Regions from separate parts of the Homo sapiens genome. Here all the other regions are linked to region 4. The links are contacts of gene promoters, found by promoter capture Hi-C in blood cells and fetal thymus (Javierre and others, 2016). All regions are on one chromosome and are shown on one strand. The core of a region is centred on a gene start or on the middle of the fragment in contact, and the rest is flanking DNA. Distances in the headings are between cores, read along the strand shown.

What was found. Contacts are between HindIII fragments. The CHiCAGO score rates a contact against its expected background, and 5 or more counts as called.
Region 1: a fragment that was not itself captured here is called in contact with the fragment with the promoter of STARD6 in region 4 in 5 of 17 cell types (M1 macrophages, erythroblasts, M0 macrophages and 2 more); the score reaches 10.5 in M1 macrophages.
Region 2: a fragment that was not itself captured here is called in contact with the fragment with the promoter of STARD6 in region 4 in 7 of 17 cell types (activated CD4 T cells, naive CD4 T cells, total CD4 T cells and 4 more); the score reaches 7.0 in activated CD4 T cells.
Region 3: a contact is called between a fragment that was not itself captured here and the fragment with the promoter of STARD6 in region 4, in 1 of 17 cell types (monocytes). The highest score is 5.3, in monocytes.
Region 5: a fragment that was not itself captured here is called in contact with the fragment with the promoter of STARD6 in region 4 in 1 of 17 cell types (non-activated CD4 T cells); the score reaches 5.0 in non-activated CD4 T cells.

What each region holds. Positions count from the first base shown.
Region 1 is chr18:54,963,743-54,966,442 of GRCh38, reverse strand. No RefSeq gene overlaps it. Among named protein-coding and RNA genes, the nearest start is that of CCDC68, 5.6 kb to the right of the region's middle. The HindIII fragment of the contact is 1,171 bases long and covers 747-1,917 here.
Region 2 is chr18:54,981,448-54,984,147 of GRCh38, reverse strand. No RefSeq gene overlaps it. Among named protein-coding and RNA genes, the nearest start is that of CCDC68, 23 kb to the right of the region's middle. The HindIII fragment of the contact is 1,368 bases long and covers 640-2,007 here.
Region 3 is chr18:55,321,251-55,323,950 of GRCh38, reverse strand. The region is part of intron 8 of TCF4 (transcription factor 4); the gene reads left to right. Among named protein-coding and RNA genes, the nearest start is that of TCF4-AS1, 130 kb to the left of the region's middle. RefSeq lists a silencer at 1,164-1,543. The HindIII fragment of the contact is 2,973 bases long and covers 1-2,700 here.
Region 4 is chr18:54,356,423-54,359,122 of GRCh38, reverse strand. It overlaps STARD6 (StAR related lipid transfer domain containing 6), which reads left to right and starts at 1,265. Exons shown (of 8, transcript NM_139171.2): 1 at 1,265-1,331; 2 at 2,679-2,700. It overlaps C18orf54 (chromosome 18 open reading frame 54), which reads right to left and starts at 1,217. Exons shown (of 9, transcript NM_001288980.2): 1 at 1,048-1,217; 2 at 253-349. RefSeq lists enhancers at 631-700, 202-713. The HindIII fragment of the contact is 3,120 bases long and covers 1-2,402 here.
Region 5 is chr18:54,938,124-54,940,823 of GRCh38, reverse strand. The region is part of intron 4 of CCDC68 (coiled-coil domain containing 68); the gene reads left to right. Among named protein-coding and RNA genes, the nearest start is that of CCDC68, 20 kb to the left of the region's middle. The HindIII fragment of the contact is 2,460 bases long and covers 172-2,631 here.

The sequences.
Region 1 (2,700 bases), core at 83-2,582, 610 kb before region 4:
GAAGCCACTCAATAGTGGCAAGACACCAGGAGCCATCCTCATAGAAGCAGAGATGCCGCATTAATGCTGGGTAAAGCTTCGAGGGAGAATCCCCAGACTCTAGCTGAAACCCTAAAGCTCTTCCATCCTTATCCAGTCTCCAGGAATCTCAGCGATTGCAGGGTTCTTGCTTTGGGACCTGGATGAGCTCTCCATCTTCCTTATTGCCATGTGGACCCTAATATTAACTCCCCACTATTACTTGAGCTAACATGAAGACATTATTTTTCTTTTCCCAAAATTTTTATTTTGATATCAACCACTTACCAAACCATCAAGAAAGATAATATTTCAAAGAAAAAACAAAAACAAAAACCAAGAAACAGGGATATAGGTATCAAACCACAATTATCCCCCAAAACACTGCTGTTGCAAAAAGGATAGAAAGCCAAAATCCCATAGACTATTAGAGAATACCTTTAAAAACAAGCAAAAATATTTTGTAAAGGTATGGTTTTCACTACAGTGTGTGGACAGGTTCAAACAGTGGATAATCAAAGAAAATTCATCTTGTTTGGCCTGGGAATACAGTAAGCTTTCTTCTATTCCAGCTGAAGAAATAAAAACAAACCAACATGAGCTTCTGAAGTTAATATTGAAATTGTCTTTACCAACTGAAGGTAGCATGAGAATAAAGGCAGAGAAAGTGAACAAATAGCAAAGACAAGTAGTCTTGAAATTCAGTCTCTACCTATAATCAATAAGCTTGTCTAACACAGCCTTCCTACAGCCTTATCCTGGGCTTCACATCCCTCCTCCAAACTTAGAAATACCTGAATTTAGAATGCACATCTCAACCCTCTTGTCTTGTTTCACCTTTCTCTATGAGTTCTTTACTCAGGGGTAAGGGCTCACAGTGCAGAGGGAAGTGTTATTTATTATTCCAGCTACTGTTAAGATAAAGTGAACCAAGCTCATCAACAGAAAGAATGCCTACAGAAATCAGAACTTAATAACTCCAACTGGGTGCTTTGAAAAGACATTTCCAACAGGATATTTAGTTTTGCTAAGAGAGCAGCAATCATTTTAAATAATGATGTCCAGGGCTGACTTTTTGCTGGTTCACCTGGGTTCCTACTCGCCAGTTGTCTATTATGGCTGGCAGCTTTTCTGGTTGGTCAGTACTACTGCTCAACCGATAGGTTCATATTCTGAATATCACTCTTGGTTATGTCATGGTTTCTGTACCTATTATGTGAAAGGAGTCCTAGAAAAAGATTCACCTGTGTAGACAGACTTGTATACATAAGTAGACATTCACATATTGTTGATAAGCATTGGCTAATTATTTTACTAATGAACTCATTCAATAGCCAGAGTTTCAGTTCCTACAATATTGTTTTCCCTTCCTCTCTTAGCAGAGATGGACAAGAAAAATGTATTTCCTGTACTTCTTGTTTGTTTCTCAAGGCTTGCTTACATTTCTCTGCTTTATCTCCCACTAGTCTCCTGTGGTTTGGCTGGACTGGTCTACTTGGTAGATTCCCAGTCTGCCTGAAAATTGACTTGCCCTGGTGCCTTTGGCTGTGTCTGACCTTTAAAGGCTTCCATGCTCTCCCAGAATAACATGGTAATTATTCTCAAAAACCAATGCCAAGCCTACCTCCTCTTGAGGCCTTCCCTAGAACACCAACTAAAATCAGTACTTTCTCTTAGTTTTCTAGTACTTAGTAGCTTCACTAATACTCAGTGATGATTTATTGCTTGAAAATATTGTAGCTTATTATATAATTGCATGGATAGGTATTTTTATGTGCTTATATGTGATCTAGCCATTTAAAGTGCAAACTCTTTGAAATTTAAAATTGTAAAATGGACCCCAACACTTAGCATATCAGCTGTGAACTGTGCAGAATAGATGGAGTTTTGTCCTAAGCTTGCGAGAGACATTAGGTATAGAGTGTTTTCCCTAGCAGTCAGCTAAATCGTGAGCTTGGAGCTCAAAATGCAAGACTTGGAGGGCTCATACAGTTAAATTTTGTCAAGATCAATGCTGCAACTTCCACATTTGCATTCCCTTTTCCTTTCCACAAGTCACAGAAAATGTAGAAAGGCGGTAGGTATGGGAGAGGAGGAAGAAGTTGGAAAATTATCCAATACCAGGAACCCCTTAGGGTGGCGTTATGGGGACGTCACAGGAATGTGAGAGGACAGGAGGGAAAGCAGGGAAAGGCATCACCAAAAAAGTGATGGGAGCATGCCTCCTTTATAATTTTGCAAAGCCTTCTTGATTTTGTGCCTTAAAAATGAAATATTTCATAACAAAACCTAATTAATGTTTGAATTATGACCTGACCTAGGTACAAAACTATGGTAGGCAGAATAATGCCCTCCTGCAAAGAAGTCCATGTCCTAATCCTTAGCCCCTGTGAATATGTTATCTTATGTGGAAAAGAGACTTTGCAGATGTGATCAAGTTGAGGATGTTGAGATGGGGAGATTATCTTGGGTCATCTAGTTGGTCTTAATGTCATCACAAAGGTCTTTATAAGTGAAAGTGGGACAGAGTCAGGAGGACATGTGCTGCTGGTTTTGAAGGTGTAGAAAGGGGCTATAAGTGGAGAAATGCAGAGAGCCTCTAGAAAAGGCTAGAAAATGCAAGGGAACAAATTCTCCCCAAGAGACTCCAGTAAGGAATAGTTTATTTTACCCTGGTACCAT
Region 2 (2,700 bases), core at 74-2,573, 620 kb before region 4:
GTGGACAATTCTTTTATTTACTAGTTCTTAGTACAACTCTTTCTATTACTGCATCAAGAGGTGCTGGTCCTTCTCAGAAATGACAGGCAGAAATAGGTTAATTAGATCAAATATTCACAGCTTCTGGGTTGCCCTCCCAGATCACAGTGTTTTATCCTTTAAACAGTGACCACTGAAGTTCGAGTCTGGAAATGGGCAATGCTTTGTCAGGCAGGAGTAAAGGAGTGAGCTGCCCAGATCCCCCCCACAAGAGTGTCTGCTGTCTTCAGTCTAGCAGAGAGGACACACTGGCCCTCTTGTTTTCTTTCTTGGAAGCCTAGAGCCACTTCCGAGGATCATACGCATTCAGTAAAGAACTTAATATCACCCCCCACCCCCAACGTGCCATATTTAATACAGTGAAGTCCAGTCCCAATGTTTTGCCTGTGATAAACTGAGGAAGGTTTCTGCTCCGACGAGGACCTGGGCTCCGAAGGCAGGTAGTCCATTCATGCCTCAGTTCCACAGCTTGGGGCCCAGTGACTTTGGGTGAGTCACTTAATCGGCCCCTGCCTTGGTTTCTTAATCTGCAGGAAGGGCGGGTGGTTATGTAGTAACAGGGTTGCTGTGAGGCTCATATGAGATAATCCAGCTAAAGCTTTTAGCACACAGCTTAGTACAAAATAGATGCTCAATAAACGTTAGGCATTTTACATTCTGATTTCAGTCCTTGAGTTTACAGTTAAAATTTTGATACATCTAGAGCCAAGACTAATCGTGTGAAACAAGACAGCCCTACAGACAATATCTAAGAAGATCCCCTCAGCCCTACTCCAGGATCCTAAATACGTACACTGTTTCAGGAACCTGGATGTCTAGACGTTTTATGAAATGTCCACTAGGTGGCAACATGTTGTCATATTTACTGTCCGCACTGTCTAAATTTCTAACAGGGATCCTGAAAAACCACATTCACCTTATCTGATACTTAACAATTTTATCATAAACAAAACCAGATTCGCTACAGTCATTATTTCAACTAAAAAAAAAAAAAGCTCCAGTTAGTGGGCTCTTGTTTTAAAAATAACATATTTGTTATTCACATTGTTTGAATGGTTATCCTTGTATCATACGAACAATATGATGTTAAATATCACACTTGAGGATTTCTCTGTTTTTTATTCTTATGCTCCTATTTGATTTTTAAATGTTTTAACACATTGATTACCTGACAAAGGATGAAGGATTTAGATGTTTGTCACGATTCAAAAAAAATCTCATTGCATGACCTGGTCATTTGGCATCATATTAACGACTTGGGGAAAGAAAGGATAAAATTTTTTTTTTCTTATGCATTTTATGTTCTTAAATCAAAGTCTCGATGCAGACCCCAAAACCAAAAATGCCAGCAACCGCACATGGGACACAAACCTTGTGTTCTACCAGGCTGGGATTTTTCAGAAAATTCAAAGTAATCTCTCTAAAATGAACATATACTTTACTTTCCTTGCTATTCCTTTAAAGTGTGTTTTTTTGGAGAAATGTAGATAAGGAATGAAGGAAGAATAAATGGATGACTCTGACATAAAAGGAGGCTTTGGGATGCAACTGTTATGTGACAGCAAGGAGTAAAAATATAAGAATTTGTGGACGAGGAAGAGAGGTGGTAAGAAAAGGTTCCCAGTGATGTGAATTAGGATTGAAGAACTCCAGCCTGAAGAGGGGATTGTTATGTGGAGCACAGTTAGATAATAAAACCGCTATAAAGACACATGAGAGATTTGTATGATAAAATGTTATGTTATCTTATATAATAAATATTTTGGTACATGATTGAGAGGTCTTTGAGAATGCCATGATACATTTTATTGTTCATTTATATTTATTAAAAGCATAAAATAAAAGGGTAAATAGTTGATATTAACAAATAAAGTTCCAGAACAAGTTCTGTCTATAGGCATTTCTTATGAATTCTTACTGTCTATAGTAAAATAATGATATATTACTGATCACTACACATGTTAAGCTTTTACTTTTTAATTAAAACTGTCATTAATGATCCAGCTACTGCCTGGAAATTAACCTCAGGCTTATTATAAAATTAGCATTTTCAAAGTCATATTTTAAAGCAACATTTAAATGTCTGTTGTTCTTAGTGGTAGGGGGCTCCATAGTAGGAAAGGAGGCATATTGATTACAACACAGATTATTGAGGAGGATTGTCTCAGCATACCCTTCCAATTATATTGAAAATCACCTTGTGATAAGACATAAATATCTGTAAATGTTATATAATGGGGTTTTATCTGTTTGTTTTGCAGAAAGCACACTGTTAGTAAACAGATGGTTTAGAACTATTATAGTTGCCAATAACTGGAAACTTGGCCCTAGAAAGGACAAAATACTGTATATAATTGTTCATTAAACAAATATTTATTGACTCTCTGATGTGGGCCTTAGAAATTCAATAGTGATCCAAATAGGCATAGTCTCTGACCCCACAACTGCTCCTAGATTCTAATAGAAAACAGACAATAAATAAACATTGTAACACATGTGGTAATGATGGAAAAGAAGGCTACAGGAAATTTGAAATAAAAGAAGAAAGTTTACCTAGAGTACACACTGGAATTTAAGTTTACTAAATAAATGACTTGTACATGTAAAACAACAACAACCAAAAACCTAAACAAAACCCCATATGGTTTAATATTGCTAATT
Region 3 (2,700 bases), core at 20-2,519, 960 kb before region 4:
TGTTTGCAAAATAGGTAAGAAAAGGTATTTAACGTAGATGAAGCAGAATGATTGTTTATCAAAAGAGTTTAGAGATCTTTCTAGCAGTCTACCCATGGAAAGTTAGGATCTAGAAAAGCCTTCTCAATAAGGGAAGAAACAACAAAGAAACAACAACCAGGAAACTCCCCAACTTATCTCTTTAAATTCCAGCCTCTTTTCTAAGTGGTGGTTTTTACATACTGTCCTCTGGTAGGTGGGTACCCTGGCCTTGTGTATTAAGCAGTGAGGGTGGTTTAAAGGTTACAAATGTGATCCTGTCAGATTGACAACTAACTGTTCTAATGAGGAAAAAATCCTCAAAGCATGAAATTTGAATGAAATGTGTGATTATAATTCAAGTACTGTTTACACAAACCTCTGGGGACCTTCCGAATAAATGCAGAGCAAGTGAGTTAGACAAACCTCTGGGCCTTCGATACGTGTGTGTGGATGTGCGGTGTGTGTGTGTTTATTTTAGAGAGTGGGGAAACTTTCCACCATTAGCCCGGGCTTTGCTCCTCGGAACCAACACCACTATTCCTCCTTGTTTATTAATACTGTATGTGTTTTGTTAGCATATTGAGTTGTAAGGAAATAGGTGCTTTGAATTATTAAAGTTGATTCTTGAGAATAGATGTATGCTCGGGTGGCATTTGCTTCGGCATATGCAAATGATTTAGTTTCATTTGGGATCAATTCCCAGAGGCCCTCCTTTCCTGTGATGCTCTGAATTTGGCAAGCTCAAGTCAGCCCATCTCCTCTCCCCACATCCCTCCCTTTCTTTCTTTCCTTTTTTTGTACCTCCCCCCGCCTTTTTGTTGATTGGTATAATATTTTTAAAAGACAATAAATAAATATATCAACTTGCTTGTGAGAAACCTTGCCATCTATAAGGATTCTATTGTTCAGTTGTGATCAATAAAGGTGAACAAAGGTTTTCACGTTCTTAAAGTTTAGCAAAATCGAAGTTTAGTAAAAATGTGCATGAGATGTTTGCTAAAATATTTATACAGATACTGGGCTGCGGGGATGCTGCAAAACTCTGAAAATGTGGTCTCAGGGGTGCCTTTGGGGAAACTGACAGCTGTAAGATATTCGTCGGTTCGAAGGTACCAATAAACTTGCTTTAGAGCCCAGCAAATAGCGTGAAGTTGCAGTAGATTGTCTAAAGCTACAGTGAAAGCACCCAACTCCAGAGTGGAGAACGTGCGCCCTTGGGGCGCCCAGCGCCAGCGAGGGGAGCAGCGCCCCAGCCCCTCCGTAGGCTCTGGGCCCATGCGGCTGTCTGCGGCGGGGCGAGGTGAAGTTCATGGGCGGCCGCGCTTCCCACCAGCTCCGGGGAGGCCGGGGCCCGCGGAGCCCGGGGCGGGCCGCACTGCTACTCTGTTTCATTCCGCAACCCCGTTTTGTAGGTTGTTGACCAAGCAGTCAGAAAACACTGCCCCCTCTCTCCTTTTGAGCGAGGTCAGAGACGTGGTGTTTTTTTTTTTTTTTTTTTTTTTTTCTTCCCTCCCCTTTCCCTCCCCTTTCTCCGAGTCGAGTTCTCAGGCAGCTGCGTACAATGCTGGGAGCTAGCCAGCAGCAGAGACAGATGGCAGAGTTATTAGATGTGCATCATACGATTCCCTTCCTGCCACTCGCTTTTTAATCAAATTAAAACAAAAAAGAAAGAGAGGGAGAGAGAGAGAGGGGGAGTCAATTAACTGCATTTGTATTCTGCTCAATAATGGACCCTGTTCCACTTTTACCCTAAGGCAGTTGAGTGGAAATTTTAGAGAAGAAAAGGGTGCCTAGAACAAAACAAAACAAAAAAAAAAAAAAAAAGGAAAAAAAAAAAGAAAAGAAAAAGAAAAAAGTGAAGACTGCAGAAATTTGTAAGAATCGGCATTATTCGAGGAACTAATAAAAACCCCTCGGAAAAGTTGAATCGATCTCGCGTATGCATTAGGATTTCGAGCTCCATCAGGGCCGGGCTGCCTTCCAGCTCCGCTGCGCAAAGTTGAGCGTCTGACAGCAGCGCCGCGGCCTCCCCCGCCCGCCAGGAATGGTCTCTTCCTGCTTTGCATATTCACCACGCTTGGCCCGGCCATATGGGAAAATGCAACTGAAGGAATTGTTGTGAAAAAAGGGACAGCGAGTTTGAAATAAAAGTTGTTAGAGTGGTACTGAGGAGAAAAAAGAATCCGAGACCATGTACTGCGCATACACAATCCCGGGCATGGGCGGCAACTCTTTGATGTACTACTATAATGGGAAAGCGGTAAGCGAATGCGGGCTGCGAGGGGGATTTTTGACAAGTTTTATTGTCGCAGGGATGAGCATCCTAGGTGGTGATCATTGTTTGCAAAGTTGTGCAGGACTGCCGCACCTTCCTGGGTGCCATGAAATATTTATCATTTGCCAATCCTAAGATCTTCTTCTTGCCTACTTCTTCTCCTTCGTCTTTTTTTCCCCCCACTCCTCCCCCAGAGTAGAAAAATAGATGCTTTCAGAGCTTTAGAGAGTGGATCCTAGAGCGAAAGTTTGCAGTCAGGTAAAGTTGAGAGGTGGTATGATTTTTTTTTTTTAAAGAGTTTTGGAAAATTCTTATTCCTTCCAAATGACTGTTAGAAAGGAAAAGCAGATATGAGAAGCAGAATTGAGAAAGCCCAAGTTAGGCTGAGAGGAAATTTGGGGTAA
Region 4 (2,700 bases), core at 16-2,515:
CTCACAGGACAGACAAAAAGAAAATGCACAATTTAAGTTTCATTATGAAAAGTTTTCCAACTTTTCCCCAAAAGAGTATACAAAAGTAGAATCGTTCAATAAACCCCTATGTACTCATCATCCTGCTTCCAACAATCGCTGAACAGACCCCAATTGTAGCTAAAGTGGGTAGGGACCCACCCACTTCTCCCCACTTCAGCCACAGGATTATTTTGAACCCCACATATCTCATGCAAATCCCATATATCTTACCATTTCCTCCGTACAGGCTTCAGTTCGAATCTCCAAAAGAAAATCCATCACGCGGAAGAACAGAATGTTAAACTTATTGACAACAAATTTTAACTAACTTTGATTCAAAAACAGAATGTTCAGTGTTAAATAGCCAATGGGAATATCGCACAGGAAATTAAGAACAACTCTTGGAAATAGCTCTGTGACTGCTAAGTTAGGAAAGGGAACGTTTGTTTACTCGGCAGCAGAAAACCAGGAACCCACCGACCGGCCAGCGAAGGTCGCCCGTCTCCAGCAGTGCGCATCGTTCCCCTACCCCGGGCGCCCTGAATTCCAATTTTTCCAGTCCCAATCAGGCGACACCCTCCCTTTGGTGTTCCACCGCCCGTCAGTCACAGACACAGACAAGTTCTTCAGTGAGATGCTTTTCACTCCGAAACCATTTATTCAGCAGCCAGGGCGAGCGCAGCAATGGACTGAAGGAGAAGTGTTCCGAAGCGACAGCCCCAGAGCGCAAGCCCCTTCCTGTCGCCGCCTCAGGTCCGCAGACGCCCGTGTGAGCCCCCTCCGCCGCGTCCCGCGACCCTCCCTCGCCCAGGGGGCACTCCCCCTACAGTGTTCTTCCTTCCACAGAGACTCCACAAGCGCCCTCCCTCAGGAGACGTCTCCTCCTCTTTCCTCGCCACTCTCCTTTCGCCTTTTCTCGGCTGTCACAGGATGGGACAACCCTCGAAAAGACACCCTCCTTTCCGTCCTAACTCACCCCTAAGGCCCCAAAATAAAAATAAAGGAAAACAAAAACAAAAACCGCACACTTCCACAGCTCTCCGCCGAAAGCTCAGGCCTGTTACCCAACGCGAGACACCACAAAGCATCCCCAACCCGGACACCGCCCCGCCTCAGGCTCGGCTCACTCGCAGCTTCCTCCGCAGTCACAGCAGAGCTCGACACCCGCGCTCGCTTTCAAACCGCCCCAACATGGCGCCGGCCTGCGGTGCGCATGCGCGGCAGTGGGGCGCCGGGCGCGAGCGGAGATGAGGGAGCGGCCGGAGAAGAGAGGATGCTGTTGAGCGTTAGGTCGCGACCCCTGCTGGAAGGTGCTGTTTCTCCCTCCTTTCTGGGGCTGGGAATGGGGGGATGTGGGCTGCATCCAAGTCGCTGCCCCCCACGCCCTTCCAACCTCCGTCACAGCTATTCTCGGCCAGTTTGCGCGGGGACTTGCTGATCTCCCTTCAGCCGGCCCCGGGGTCTGCGGGAGGGGACTGGGTGGGGAGGGAGACTTAAGGGCGCTGGCGGCTGTCGTTCCGGTCGCTGAGAGTCTGCCCCACAGCTCCAGTTTTTCCAAGTGAGTTCAGCCTCCCCGCTTCCAGAGCATCCCCCGCCAAAAATAAGATATCGTCTCAGCTAGTAGGCAGTCCCCCCTCACCACTTCTTTCACTCCCTCTTCAGTGCCTTTCCTCTCACACCCCGGAGCCTCTCACACACAAAGCAGATGGGAGATTGGAGACCCGAGTTTAGCCAGGGATGGGATTTAACAAACTCCTAGGAAGCCTTGATTCCCAGGGAAGAATGGCAGTGACCCCGCACGGATTGGGGACCCAGTCAGGCAGCTCAGAAAGAGGGTCATTGTACAAACAGATGTAAAGACTCACTAACATGTGTGAACCTGTCTGTAAGTCTGGAAGGAATCCAGTTTCAACCAATTGGTGTATCAAAAAAAGAGGCCATCCCAATGTTGGTTTATGTTTATTTTCCACTGACCCTATGAGTGAAGATATCCTTGACCATGAGTCCATCTGAATATGTTCCAGCTCATCCGACGTTCCACCACCATGTAATACAATTGTAGTCTTACTGTTTGCACTTTCTTCTTTTTACCCTTTGTAGCCTACTAAATTTTACCTTCCCTTTTCTCTTAGCAAATGAAAAAGTCCGGAAGCTATAACGTTCAGTTTAGTGGTTAAACACAGGTCTATTGTGGCAGTAATAGTTGGTGATTTGAAAATAAGACATACCCTGCTAGTGGTATGTCCCAATAATCTTCAAAGTCTCTAGATCAATTAATATCAAGTAGGTTTCCAATAGGAAATCAAGAACGGTGTTTTATATGCTAAGACGAGCCCTGGTCGGGGATTAACAATCCTTGTTAATTGTTAGTGACGTAAGCTTAAAAACTTAAATTTTTGTATCCACGTTCCACCTAAGTGTCTTTTTAAACTGAGTTCCTTTAAAATAGTTTCTTAAAGATTCTTTTTATAAACAGTATCTTTTAAAGTTTTTTGTACTATATTTTTCTTTCATCTTGGGGCATATATGTAGCAAATGTTTCCTAATGAAGACAAAGTATAGATAAAGGACACTGAGAAGATATAAAGAAAATTATCAAATATATTGACCTAATTCATGGATCAAAATAATTCTACTTCTGCCTTGTTTCCTCACAGGTTAAGAGATATGGAGATTTCC
Region 5 (2,700 bases), core at 152-2,651, 580 kb before region 4:
TCAAATTGGAATGGCTAGGCCTTACTTGAATATATTAAACAAGGCTTACTTATCGAAAGTAAATGAGAAGATGTTGGCCCAGCCAAGATCCATGACAGCAACATTTCCCAATGACAGGCAGAGCTTTTAGACTCACGTGGGCCACATGAATAGACACATACAGTTGAAGCTTTTAGGCCTGAGTTGAGTCAAGACTTTGTTAGATAGTTGATAAGTTTGAATGCACTCCCTTCCCCAACATCAGCTGTATATACCTAAGGTCGAGCAATCTGCACTTAGCCTTGTCTGGATTACACCAAGCTAAACCACATCTGAGCCAAGTGTACTTAATCAGTGTTGTCCACTATAGGCATGGCCACAGAGTCCACCAGAACGTGGGGTATAATGCATAAATGTAGTCATTTTCATCACCCTCAGCCTCCCACACTAACATAACTAGCTTCAATTATTATTTAAAATACTTCTAAACTAGAAAACAAGGTTATGTTTAGGAATGATAGGGAAGATTAAAAAATTCAGTTTGGGCTATGTTGAGCTGCCTGTTAGACCTCCAAGTAGAGGCTTCTAATAGGCAGCTGGACATCTGATTCTGGAGCTGCGGGTAGAAGACTGAGCTAGAAGGTCCAGGATACAGGGTAGAGATTTTGGGCATTTGAGGATTGTATTTAAAGTTCTGAAACTGGAGAAGTTTACCAAGTGAGTGAGTGTGGAGAGAAATGAGAGAAGATCTAAGGACTGAGTCTTGAGGGGACCGTTCCCAATGTTTAGATATCAGGAAGAAGAACCATCCCAGGAAGGTGAGATGAGGCTGGTGGATTAGGAGGAAAAGAAGGAGATTTCAGGGCTCTAGGGTAGAGCCAAGATGCTGCATTTCTAACAAGCTCCTGTTGATGCTGAGCTGCTGGGACCGTAGACCACAGTTGAGAGTAGCAAGGCCCTAGATTATCATGGCAAAATCTCTACAAGGCCAGAGGGCTGATGATTTGATGTGTGGTTGATCTGCTGACCTCTTATGGTTTGAAGTTACTCGTGTCAAGGCCACTTTAGCAGGAGTCACTGAAGGCAAATGAGGAGAGGGTTTCAGAAGCACGGCGGGACCCCTCTGTCAAATAATGTCCATGGGCCAAGGAAATTGCGGACTGAATGCCCACCATAGATAGGAGGAGCTTCTTAGGAATGGTGACGACACTGTGTTGCCATGTGTCTGCCTCAGCCACCTCAAACCACAGAAGGTCAGCAGATCAACCATGCATCAAAGCATCAGCCCTCTGGCCCTGTAGAGATTTCACCATAGTGATCTAGGGCCTTGCTACTCTCAAGTGTGGTCTGCAGTCCCAGCAGCTCAGCATCACCAGGAGCTTGTTAGAAAGGCCGCATCTAGGCTCTACCCCAGACCTCCTGATTCAGAATCTGCATTTTTAACCAGTTCTATCACCCAGTAGTTCACAGGCACATTGAAGTTTGAAAAGCACTGATCAATGATCTTTGTAGCCATCTACCACTGCTGATAATCTGCCTTCTTCAAGAGTTTTTTTTTTTGTCAAATATTCTTTAACAAATTAAAAAAGAAAATAATTCCTACTCTGTATATGAAGAGTGGAAGTATGCACTAGGGTCTTGACTCTAAAACACAAAACTGTGACAGAGTTACGGTGAGGGAGGATATTATCCACATACACTAAGTTCTTTTTGTTTTTTATTTCTGCAATCATAGTTATTATATTGTAGTGAAAAGAACATATATTTTGTTGTTAAACAAACTGGGATTCTAATTCTGGTCTGGCAGTTACTTTAGGTAAAACCTTAGGTGTGTTAGTTAAACTCTCATCTTCAAATTCCTCACCTGTGTAAAGGGCCTAGCACCTTCCAGTGTTTTGAGTATTCAGACAAAGGACTGTACATAAAACATCTAAAAGATGACCTGGCATATAACAGGTGTTTAACAAATAGAAGCTGTTATTATAATTGTAGTGTATGTGTAATTGTGTAATCATTTCTCAGTTTTGAAATAAATTGAAAGAACAGAAAGAGCACACAATAACTATTCAAGAGGCAGTGCCATGAGGTCTCCCGCTCACTTGCTGCATAAACTTGGGCCCTGGTCCTCAGTTTCTACATCTGTAAAATGGACAGTTTAAGTTAGGTGGTTTCCAATTTATTATCCACCTCCGTGTGTCCACGATTCCAGATGAGATTTATGTTCCAAGTGTATTTTCAGTGAGCTAGAGCTTACATCAGGTTATAATGGCAGTGTCATTCAGTTCTGATATCTCTGATTGGAAATTTAATATGAGGTAATTACAGTGAAGCATCACCAAACATTGACTATTATGTATTGTAACTATTAGGTCTGACAGTATTAGTCTATAATGCAATGTGACCAAAATGTAATTATGTCCACAACTTAGATTTTTAAAAAAATGTCTGGCCTTGTGGACATTATTTATCTCCTAAAAAGCCCTTATCAGTACATTTGAAACTATAGAAAATATAAAAGTTAAAATGTCATTCTAACTCTTTCAATATAAGAATCTGTTTAAATTTCAGCAAATTAGAAGTCAACTGCTTCATCTAGAATTTCCCATTGATATTTGAGATTCAAAAGATGTTTGTTTGTGCTGATCTGAAGCTTCTTTGATATATGTAATACTAAATGATCATTATTGTTGTCAAAGTTTGTAGAGGAAAAGATAGTCAGGT